Linked DNA regions of Homo sapiens: regions 2 and 3 are each linked to region 1. Evidence: promoter capture Hi-C in 16 types of primary human blood cells and fetal thymus (Javierre and others, 2016). All regions are on one chromosome and are shown on one strand. The core of a region is centred on a gene start or on the middle of the fragment in contact, and the rest is flanking DNA. Distances in the headings are between cores, read along the strand shown. Region 1 holds the start of SPACA7 (sperm acrosome associated 7). Region 2 has its middle 110 kb from the start of LINC02337. Region 3 has its middle 87 kb from the start of LINC02337.

What was found. Contacts are between HindIII fragments. The CHiCAGO score rates a contact against its expected background, and 5 or more counts as called.
Region 2: a contact is called between a fragment that was not itself captured here and the fragment with the promoter of SPACA7 in region 1, in 1 of 17 cell types (endothelial precursors). The highest score is 6.3, in endothelial precursors.
Region 3: a fragment that was not itself captured here is called in contact with the fragment with the promoter of SPACA7 in region 1 in 1 of 17 cell types (endothelial precursors); the score reaches 6.1 in endothelial precursors.

The regions. Positions count from the first base shown.
Region 1 is chr13:112,374,305-112,378,260 of GRCh38, reverse strand. It overlaps SPACA7 (sperm acrosome associated 7), which reads right to left and starts at 1,906. Exons shown (of 7, transcript NM_145248.5): 1 at 1,782-1,906. The coding sequence starts at 1,875. LOC105370373 (a long non-coding RNA gene) reads left to right here and starts at 1,983. Exons shown (of 3, transcript XR_944295.3): 1 at 1,983-2,137. RefSeq lists an enhancer at 1-454. The HindIII fragment of the contact is 13,511 bases long and covers 1-3,956 here.
Region 2 is chr13:111,488,569-111,492,524 of GRCh38, reverse strand. No RefSeq gene overlaps it. Among named protein-coding and RNA genes, the nearest start is that of LINC02337, 110 kb to the left of the region's middle. The HindIII fragment of the contact is 5,857 bases long and covers 1-3,956 here.
Region 3 is chr13:111,506,864-111,510,819 of GRCh38, reverse strand. No RefSeq gene overlaps it. Among named protein-coding and RNA genes, the nearest start is that of LINC02337, 87 kb to the left of the region's middle. The HindIII fragment of the contact is 1,989 bases long and covers 736-2,724 here.

The sequences.
Region 1 (3,956 bases), core at 657-3,156:
TCTACTTTGTTATCTACCTGTAAACTGGACTGGATCCTGAAGCCTTTTAGAGTCCTTCAATGTTCCCAGGCTAACATTTCCAGTCTTTCTTCTGCCCTCCTGACTGGGTGTTAGTGAGAACTAAAGCCTGACAACTCAGGCCTTCCGTGGGACCATCTGGAAAGGCTGAAGCTGGACACATCCACGCTCTGCCCCCAGCATAACCATGACTGTGGCTCTGATGGTCATGATGTCACCAAGGACACACCCCCTGCAAACTAGGAAATCCATCCTTGCCCCATCGGCTGAAGATACCTTGAGCCCAAAATCCAGAAATCTTCTCAACAGACTGCCCTCTGGATTCGGAAACTGTGTTTCCAACTATAAATCTTTGTTTTTCTTCTCTTTTTCGTAGACATTCCCCTCATTAAATTCCCGACTACTTGTACCATCCAGCACACATCCTCCACCAGATGAAACATGGACTTATCTTGTTCAAAGAGAAAAGGAATGTCTCTTCTTTCTTGAACAAGAGGAGGGAATGAGAAAGCCTCGCTCCTTGACTTACCTCATGCCAGGCTCCTCTGAGTCTTCTCTTTGACTAGGCCTTGACCCTAGCTTCTGCTTTTGTCTGCTTTTCCCCATGTTTAGTAGGAATCCTGTGAAGTCTTTTAGTGGAAATCCCCTAGTCTTGGCCTGGTCACCCTTGATATCTGATCAAATTCCTCACCCTCCATCTTTGATTATTTTATTGCCTTGGCTTCCTTTCAGGTCTGGCCTCCTGTTTGGCCGAACACAATATACACAATAATTGAACTAGAGGGTGAATACATGGAGGTTCATGATATTCTTCCAAGTTAGAAATTTTCCATAATAAAAAGTTAAAATAAGTAACATATGCAACTCTCTCATGGATGTCTAGATTTTAAAAGGTCTTCAAAGATAGCAGACCTTTGTGTCCTGTTGCAAGGATAATCAATTTTTATTAAACTTATGCAAACAATTGTATGGTCCTGAAAATCATAATATCCAAATTCTAGAGTAATCAGGTGGGACAAAAAATATAAATGCTTCATTTTTGTTTATAAAAGCCCTCTTGGCCTTTGCTGAATCAGTTTAGCAAAGAATTCTCCTACCTTTTAGCAATGTTCATCCACTGACCCACCCTGATCCTTGGCTGCAAATCTCCACTTTCCCTGTATTTGGAGTTGAGCCCACTCTCCACTATTATGAGACACCATGGTAGTAGCCCCCTTTGAATAAAGGCTGCCTGCCCATCTTTAGCAAGCATCACAAATATTTTTTAACGGTATGAGCTGAGATAAAGGCTTTTGGTAATTATGTTAGTCTGATTATGACATTGTAGATAATGCTTTTATCTCTTCGCAAGAAAATGTTTTACATGAGGTGGTAAGGCATCTGGGATGGTGCTAAAATACTCCCCAAACAAGAAAAGTGTGTGTATGTGGTGTGGAGTGTGTATGTGTGTGTGTGTAGAAAAAAACAAAATATGCACAATAATTGAACCTGAGGGTGAATACACGAAGGTTCATGATATTCTTCCCAGTTAGAAATTTTCCATAATAAAAAGTTAAAATAAGTAACATTTGCAACTTTCCTATGGACATCTAGATTTTAAAAAGTCTTCAAAGATAGAAAGACTTTTCAGCTACATTCATTCCCCAAGGAATAAATGGTAAATTCATGTAGGTTGGGAATAAGAGGAACCCATGGGAGAAGAGGCCGCCGCTCCCCACCTGGTTCAGTTCTCTTTCTGCTGAGACATCCCTGTGGGGCCCTACCTGGAATCACGGTTCTCGGCCGGAGCTCAGTTTCTTGCCAACAGCACAGCAGGAGGACAAAGCAGAGGGTCCCGTCTCCTTGGCTCACTGCCATGCTCCCTCCAGCTGAGGGAGAAGGACGTTCTGAAGGTTGACAGTTTCCCATCCTTGGTCTCCAGGACACTGTGGAATGTCAGGACCTGTGACATCACAACCAGGAAGGGAGCTGGGGTCCTGCCCTGGTGGGGAGGTCATGTCCAGGGACCTGTGACATCAGGACCAGGAAGGGAGCTGGCATCTTGCCAGGGGCGGGGGGCAGGGTTTCTGTCCAGAGTCTGTGACTGGGAAGCAGGGAGGAGGCTCACTGGGGTCTTAAGGTAACAGAGATCCTCTCCACTCTTTCTTATTGCCTGTTCTGGTGACTTCCTCTGTCCTGAGCACCCTGAGGACTCAAGGGGTAGATACTAATCAGGACTTAAGGGCCAGTGGCCAAAAGCCAACAAAATCTGCTCCCATGGAAAGAGGCGTATTTGAAGGATGCTGGAGAGGTGGTTGAATTACAGAGCAAGTGCCAGAACCGACAGATCCAGAGGGTCTAATCACCTCTTAAAGGTCCCTTGAAGAACAGAGCCTTGAAGAACAGAGGCCCGTGGCCCCATGTCCCCTCCCACCCTCCCCCACCCTCAAAGTTCCAGGATCATGAAGAACAGGAGACAGATGACCCAGGTTTCAGCCTCCTTTCCCCCACACCTTCTTTCTCAGCATCAGCCCCAATCTTTCCCTGGCAGTGAGACTTTAATCACGAGAGGAGAACATGGCTGCATTTCCATGTTATCATCCTCCCAGCTCTATCTCCTAGACTTTCTAGAGCTTTCTCCATCCGTGCAGTGACAAAACCCCAAAGGAGTCACTCTGGTTGGCTCCCCTGGATCCTATCTCACCCCTGGACTGACTCCTACATCCAGGGCTCAGAGTGGGGCAGCTGGTCTAGACTCGGCCGGTGGTGGGGTCCCAGGTGAACAGCCCTCAGATCCCAGCTCCATGGTGGAGAGGGCTGGTGTGTTTGTCTGTTCCCACACTGCTATATAGAACTTCCCTGAGACTGGGTAATTTATAAAGAAAAGAGATTTAATTGACTCACAGTTCTGCATGGCTGGGGAGGCCTCAGGAAACTTACAATCATGACGGAAGGGGAAGCAGGCACCTTCTTCACAAGGCGGCAGGAGAGAGAGTACATGAAGGAGGAGCTGTTAAACACTTATAAAACCATCAGCTCTAGTGAGAACTCACTTATCATGAGAACAGCATGCAGGAATCCACTCCCATGATCAGATCGCCTCCCACCAAGTCCCTCCCTCAACACGTGGGATTATGAGGATTATAATTCAAGATGATGCTTGGGTGAGGACACAGAGCCAAACCATATCACTGGGGCCCTGGACGCACAAGACTAACAATGCCCCCGAGGTCTGGTCAGGACCCCAAGGATGGCTGACCCACCATGGGTCTCTGGCTCTTTAATTTTTATTGCTTGTATGGGAACCCACAGCACATTTTTGCTCAGGTTTTCCTTTTGATAGATGCAGTGGTAGCCAATCTACCTCAAGGTGTGGGGAGTATATTTCAGATTTTCAGCGTGTCCATAAAGGCACACTAAGCATGGTTGACATTTACAGAAACCCAGTGGGTTCCAAGTCCCACTCTGAGTTAATGAATGGTCCAAGTGAGATGCTTGCTTCTATAACCCAGGCTCTTGCTACTCAGAATGTCATTTTGGGGCCAGCAGCATGGGCCTAAGAGGCTGAATGTACAAACGGACAGCAGCCAGAGCTCCCATGACAGCAGAACCCTGCACTGCTGCCTGTCGAACGACACCCACTGCACCAAGGAGGGATGTCTGGCTAAGGCAGGCCAGGGACTTCCACCTCAAGGCGGAGGATGAGGAATTTGATCAGGGCTGGGGGCGAGGCCTCGTTGAGAAGAGGGGTCAGAGGAGCCTCGCTGATTTGGTCGAGGAAGGAGTCATTCTCAAGGCTGCCCGAAGCTCGGTGACTTGATACAGCCCATGTGTGATTGCTTACAACTTTGTGGGTTGGCTCTGGGGGCTGCTGGCCTAGTGTGGCCTCATGGACATGTCTGAGGCCTTAGCTAGGATGCTGGGGCTTGGGATGGCTGAGGCTTCCCTCCATGTGGTCT
Region 2 (3,956 bases), core at 606-3,105, 890 kb after region 1:
TAACTGCATGAACTCACACATTTCCTCCGCCACTGACTCGGAGATGCACAATGGCTTCCCCAGCAAGACCTGGAGAAACTTCTGTCGTTTCCAACATTTCACGATGGTTTTAACGTTCCCCATCATCCTTCAGATGCTCCGGGAAGACTTGCTAGCAAGAAAGCATTGGTTAATTTTGGCTTGTTCACCTTGAGAAAGGGAGCACCCATTTGCAAATATAGCTTGTTCGGTGCGATGCACATATGCCAAGTCATCCCTAAATGACAGATTCAAGCCTTGGCAATGTGTTTCTCCTCAAATTTAAGTATGCATTCCTGTGTCCCAATATAATTACTACAATTTACCTTCCCAAACCAAAATAAAGCATGCTGGCAACGTGTTTAATTTGTAGCTAAACTACTAATGCAAATGTGGAGTTGGCAGCTTGGCCGTGGTAGCATTTGGGGAAGTTTATCTCACCCATGACAGTGGGAAAGACACTCTCCGAGGACCGTGAGTTTTGACAGTCCCTCCAGCAAATGAAAAATCATCTCCACACAGCTGCCACTGTGAGGTTTATGCTTATCTCTGGTGAGTCCACTCCGGCACTTGAAGCCGTGCTTTTGCAAGCAAGATGTGAGCAGCTTATTTTCCCGAAGCCCAGAGCTATCGCAGCCCTGTGACTCCAGGAGTGATGACTATGTCCACTCTCTAGGTTTTATATGACATAGAAACTTTGGCAAAAGGGGCCAGGTGCGGTGGCTCACACCTGTAATCCTAGCATTTTGGAAGGCCGAAGCGGGCTAATCACTTGAGGTCAGGAGTTCGAAACCAGCCTGGCCAACATGGTGAAACTCCATCTCTACTAAAAATATAAAAGAAAAGTAGCCAGGCATGGTGGTAGGCTCCTGTAATCCCAACCATTCAGGAGGCTGACGCAGGAGAATCGCTTGAACCCAGGAGGCAGAGGTTGCAGTGAACCGAGATCGTGCCATTGCACTTCAGCCTGGGCAACAAGAGTGAAACTCCATCACAAAAAAAAAAAAAAAAAGAGAGAGAAAGAAAGACAGAGAGAGAGAGATGGGGAGAGAGATGGGGAGAGGGAGAAAGGGAGGGAGGGAAACTTTGGCAAAACGCACCCTTCGGCTGAAAACATGAGAGAAGCAAAAAGAATAAATGAATGAGTCATTCACAAGGCCCGACTCTCCTGCTGGAGTAGAGTAATGTGCACCTGCTCATAGCTCTCAAGCCCAGAGCCCGGGGTGTCTGCTGTGTGCCGGATGCCGGGCTAAGCTGGGGCCTTCTGCCGTCAGCTTCTGAGGCACTCCCAGCCCCAAGCTGGATGGAGCAGGTATCTCGGCAGGACGTGACCCACATTCCAGCTCCTTCCCAGGGGACAGAGAAGGGAGAAATGAATGCAGCTGGTGTGAGGGAAGGGAGAGGGCAGTGAGGAAGGCTTTCCCAGAGAAACCAGGGATATACTCAGGAAGGGGGCCCAGAGGGAAAAGTTGCTTCGCAGCACCGTGCCATGAGCAAGCCAGGAAGTCACACCACAGACTGGAGAAAGCTGGTTCTAATAAACACTGCCTGAACCCAGATCCACAGAATGGAGCCAGCCTTACACCTTAGTCCACAGCCTAGCGTGTCTTTAGGATGACACCTGTCAGGTGTGTTCACAGTCCCTGTTTAATAGAGTGACCGCTGCCATCATGACACTCGGCAGGGACAGTCCTGTTTTCTCGCCGTGCATGTGAGTGAACTGCTCAGCAGGCCATGGTGTACCTGCAAGTCAGGTAAGCGCTGAAAACCCACTTGCTGGCCAAGGTGCTTTTTGATTCCTAGAAAGAGGAGACTTACCAGGTGTGTCCTTGAGAGAACAAGAGAAAAAAAGGAAATTTTATTTTCTCTTTTGTTATAGACTTATAGGATTCTTTATTTATATGTAATTTTATGAGGACTCCCTGTCAAAATTCCACCAGGAGAATTTCAGGGCACCCCTTGCCATACCTGCTGGGACATTGCAAATCTCTGATCTGCCTCAGGCTCACCTGGCTGGTTCCCTCAGTTACACGTCTATGTGCGGCCTGCTCTTATCCGGATAAAAGAGTTCTCCATTCCCACCCTCCCAAATGCTCAGACTTTACTTTCTAGAAAGTAGTTTTATTGAGATAGCATTGACATCTAAAAACCGTATATATTTAAGATGTACAACCTGATGTTTTGATGCACCTATCCATATGAAATGACACTACATTCCAGCTAATTAACATGTCTATCACCTCTGTGTAGTTATCCTGTTTGTGTCCACGCTGAGAAGATTTAAGATCTTTTTTTTTTTTTTTTTTGAGATGAAGTCTCACTCTGTCACCCAGGCTGGAGTGCAGGGGAGGAATCTTGGCTCACTGCAACTTCTGCCTCCTGGGTTCTAGCGATTCTCCCGCCTCAGCCTCTCAAGGAGCTGGGATTACAGGCACCCACTACCACACCCAGCCAAATTTTTGTATTTTTAGTAGAGATGGGGTTTCATAATGTTGGCCAGGCTGGTCTTGAACTCCTGGCCTCAAGTTATCCTCCCACCTTGGCCTCCCAAAGTGCTGGGATTAAGAGCTATCCTTTTAGCAAATTTCAAGTGTACACTACAAATTTCTTAAGGTTTGCTCTCACTGGCCCACACAATGCAATAATTCTGCTCAGACCACATCATCGATTCCATTCAATCTTTGCCCCCTCCAAAAAAAAAAAGGAAAATTGAGTTTCCCAATGGAGCTTGAGCAGTAATTCCAACCTAAGAAGACATCACCAATATCTATCTACAGGTGGCCCTTTGTAGCTGGAAGCAAGCCTCACGGAACATTCTTTCTCAGATTAACAATAAAAAGGCCCTTCTGTACAGGAGGCACACAGGTTTTCCCCAGCGGGGAGCAGCCCTGGTATTTCACTTTCTTCCTGTTGTGACTGATGCCTTGAGCACCCCCGGTTGCTCAGCCCTAACTGTTGCACGTGGCCAACTTCCAGGACCTTCTCCACTTCCAGGACCTTCTCTGGTGAGGCGTGGCCTATGAGCGGGGGGCTGGCGGTGAGGCCCATGCTCACCCTCGGCAGCCCCTTGGGCAGGTGCTTGCTGCCTGGAGGCTGCACTGAGCCCTCCTCCTCCTCCTCTCCCCTGGCCTCCTTGCTCTTTCACAGCTCACCTAGGGCAGATGCAAGAAACAGAGGGTCTCCAATGCCACACTTGTGCTGCACAAAGTTTGTCCTGGCTGCCAGCTGATACCAGCCACACACATTTCACAGAAGGGATGTTTTGGCTGCCCCAGTAACTCAGAAATGCCAGAAAGAGCAGCAAGTGCAGCCATGGGCAGTCGTCTCCTCCTTTCTCCTGACACTTAGTGAAGGGACAGAGACATGTCTGCTTCTTCTCTTCCCTCATGGCCTGTATGGCAGGAGAAATGCACCCAGAGTCCTTTTGTCCTTTAAACCAAGTCACCCATGGCCCACCGTGAGTCTCTTTCCAGGCCAGCTGCTTGGTGAGGGCCCAGGTGCCCCTGGGGCAGCTGAGGACTAGCCGGGTTAGGGGAGGGCTGAGCACAGGACAAACACCCCCCATGCTATAGGAAAAGAAGCTCGGGGCTCTGGCCCACACCTGGTAGCAGCTGGCTGTCAACAGAAACTCGTGAGCTCTGGGAGGTCCACCAAAGCCCAGCCCTGGAGTTGACCTCAGCATATCCAGGGAGGGTTTCCCCCCACAGGTTATGCAGAGAGAGCGAGAACCACTTCACATGCAGAGTGAGGAAAGGGGCCGCTGCGGGCCAGGCGGGAGGCTTCCTGAGTCCCCACCCTGCCCTCGTGTGCAGAGGAAGCTGTATTTCTGCATCCTTATCACATCTTTGCACAGGAATGGTTAGAAAGCTAGAGCAATGGCCACTGAGCTTCAGCGTGCATTCGAACACCTGGGAAGCGTGTTAGAACATGGAGAGCTG
Region 3 (3,956 bases), core at 481-2,980, 870 kb after region 1:
GACTCCTCCTGGAATGCTGGAAGACAGGGCAAGTTCCGTGGCAGAGGGAGGGCATGGGAAGCAGGAACAAGCCAGTCTACCACCATGGACAACATGCCTGGTGCCCTCCCACGGGTCCCTGGGGTCCCTGGAGCCCAGATCTGGGCCTCTCTCTCCTTGGACAGGAGCGCAAGCCAGCACTTCAGAGGCCATTGCCTGCGTCTTCCTTAATTTTCACAGCACAACGTATGCTGTCACCAGGTGAGGGGTTCCTCAGACCTGTGGCAGATCACAGCTGAGGTCTTGCTCCCAGGAGTGTCTGGCACACCCAGTAGAGGCTCAACAAATCCTTGATTGGGTGAACGGATGAACAGAGAAAAGAACTCTAACATCACCATGCCATGTCTTCTTCCAAGCACGCACGAAGGGCTAGATTCAGTGTGATTCAAATGCCTCTTGGCTAATATGACATAAAACCCTCTGAGGGCCTCCCAGATCCACAGCAGATATGTCACTAAAAATTCCACCCGAAGTCTGACTGTAGCAACTACTTTGGCTTCTAAGCAGCAAATTTTTTAAATGCTCTCTGAATATAATTATTTTCCTCTGACATCACCCAGCATCCCTCCACACAGCACACACCCCTTAGTTTTCATTCGCCTTACAGAGTCACCCAGCTCCTGGGTTTTCCTCCCCGCTGAGATGAACAATGAGCGGGGCTTTTTTCTTTATTATTTCAAATGTTTTTCACAAGCTTGATTTAAAAAGGGAAAATTCCCCACCATATTTTCGGTCTGATTATCAGATGATGATGGACAATAGATTGATAAGAGTCACTCAAGGAGATACAGGCTCTTGTGTATAACAGCTACTCCAATTATCAGGCACTACTAAACTATTATTGATCCTGTTCACATTGGGTGATAACTGAGCATTTTCCACTTCTTTAAAGTGCTGTTAACTAGAAACTCCCATCATTGACAAAGCGGCAGACTTTTCCCTCAACATAGCTCAATACTGTAAATAGCACCCACTGAAAGTGCAGAGTGCTTTAATCCCATTGAAACAAACAACTGCCCAGCACAAACACACAGACATTCTAGTTGAGAGACAGGACTAGCTGGATTTCCTAGGCCAACTAAGAATTCCTAAGCCTAGCTGGGGAAGGTGACTGCACCCACCTTTAAACAGGGGCTTGTAACTCAGCTCACTAACATACCAATTAGGCTAAAAGCAGGAGGTAAAGAAATAGTCAAATCATCTGTCGCCTGAGAGCACAGGGGGAGGGACAATGATCAGGATATAAACCCAGGCATTCAAGCCGGATCGGGCAGCATCCTTTGGGTCCCTTCCCGTTGTACGGGAGCTCTGTTTCCACTCTACTAAATCTTGCAACTGCTCACTCTTCTGGTCTGTGTTTGTTCTGGCTCAAGTTGAGCTTTCACTTGCCGTCTACCACTGCTGATCGCCGCCGTCACAGGCCCGCCTCTAACTTCCATCCCTCTGGATCCAGCAGAGTGTCCACTGAGCTTCTGACCCAGCTAGACTTTGCCGCTCCGGATCGGCTAGAGGCTCGCCATTGTTCCTGCATGGCTAAGTGCCCGGATTCGTCCTAATCGAGCTGAACACCTGTCACTGGGTTCCACGGTTCTCTTCCATGACCCACGGCTTCTGATAGAGCTATAACACTACTGCATGGCCCAACGTTCCATTCCTTGGAGTCTGTGAGGCCAAGAACCCCAGGTCAGAGAACAAAAGGCTTGCCGCCATCTTGGGAGCGGCCCGCCGCCATCTTGGGAGCTCTAAGAACAAAGACCCACCGGTAACATAATCTTTAAATGGCTTATTGCAAAACCAGTGCCCAAGGATGTCATGTAATATGTCACCTTAGCGACCACAGATAGACACACTGAAGGAAGGCGCAACTCACTCCATTTGCTTTCAGTGGTTTAAAGATAGAGATGTGGGTGGGAGGGAGTAGCCAGAGGGATGGTCGTCAACTGTCAATGGCGGGTTTCTTACCTTTCGCAATGTCTGGCCAGCTTCGGGGCAGCAGATGCTGTTTTTGTATGAGATTTTGGTAGGAGGTGGGACTCGACTCTGTAGGCAGGACTCAGACACCGGACCCAACTGAAGACTAGATAAAACAGGGAAGGTGTGGAAGCAGTTTTCCATCAGACACGCCCCCAGTGCACCTGTCAGTTTACTGTTGCCACTGGGCGTTACCCCCCGCTTTCCGCGGCAGACTCAATGAACCAGAAGTTACTACCTTTTCCTAGAAATTTCTGCATAAACTGCCACTTAATCTGCATGTAATTAAAAGTAGGTATAAATATGACAACAAAACCACCTTAAGCAGCAACTCTCAGCCTATGGGGTAGCCCAGCTCCGCGGGGGCCGTCACAGAGCTGTAACACCTCCAGAGCCGTGGCACTGTGGCTTCAGAAAAGGTGTTCTCTTCTACCACTGGCTCACCCTTGCATTCTTTCCTGGGCAAAGCAAAGCCCCCCCCGCCCCACCTCCCGGCTAAGCCCTGCTGTGAGGCTCACCCGCCCTGCATCCGGGTCACAGTATTTGCAGGAGGACGGGGGCCTCCGGGCAAGTGCTGGTCACATAAATATTTCTGTTAGTCTGGGTCAAAAAGCCATGATCCCAAAAGATGCTGATGTGTGGCTGATGTGGTTCTCTCCTGGGATCTGGTTTGGCTGGTGACGAATAGATGTTATTCTCTTGATGGACCAAGCTTTTGTTGTGGGTCGGGGCAAACCAAGAACATAAAATGAGCAAAATTGACAAATAAGGAATTCAGCCCCCGAAGGTGCAGTGAATCTCTTGATACCATCAGTAGTTAACCAGAGACCTGAGCACCGAGGCTGGGGGGCAGGTCAAATGACTGGGGAAGTCAATGAAAAGTGGTTTCCGTTATTTATTTTGCCATATTTTTTCCCATTGTGAATAATGTCACCTTGTATTGTATGAAAATAAAAGCACAGAATTTCCTCAAACAAAGGCTGCTGGTGGTCTTTCCAGGAGGAGGGATCCACGCTGTGGAGCCTATGCCCACATTCACTCACCCAGCCACCAGCACCCCCATTCACTCACCCAGCCACCAGCACCCCCGTTCACTCACCCAGCCACCAGCACCCCCGTTCACTCACCCAGCCACCAGCACCCCCGTTCACTCACCCAGCCACCAGCACCCCCGTTCACTCACCCAGCCACCAGCACCCCCGTTCACTCACCCAGCCACCAGCACCCCCGTTCACTCACCCAGCCACCAGCACCCCCGTTCACTCACCCAGCCACCAGCACCCCCGTTCACTCACCCAGCCACCAGCATGGGGTTGTTCATGGTTTCAGCATCTGCAGAAAGGGGCTGTGCTCAGGGAGATGAGGAGCCCCACAGTCCATCCCAAACAAAGGCCTAGGACATTAGGCTCAGAAGGGAAGTGAGGGTGAGGGTGGAGGCTGAGGCTGGAGGGATGAGGTGAAACTGGCAGTTAAAATGGGTTTACAGATGGGTTGTCCCTAAGCCACCCATGCTGCCTGATTTTCTTGCCATGAATCCAGCCAACACATATTTATTTGTTGGGGTCACAAAAGTTCAGGCCTCATTTTTGTCTCTTAAGTGTCTTGCAGTTGAGCAGGGAAGCTGACTAAGTATAGCAGCTATGGCAGCGCAAAAAGTAAGAGATTCTGGGACCGAGGTACAGGATGTGATAGAAACTTGGACAAAGCGCACACGCGCAGTGCAGGCTGTCCCTGGGGGGACATTCGCATGGAGGCTTGGGTGAAGGGCACACATGCAGCCTGGGCTGTCCCTAGGGGGACACTTGCTTGAAGGCTTGGAAGGGCAAGCAGAGGCCGTCAGGTTAGTGGGGGTGCTGCTGGCACCTGATGGCAGGGCAGCACCTGTGAAGGGTTGGAGAAGAGGCAGATGGTGCCCTCAGGGGCCCACTGGGCACTCAGACATCCAT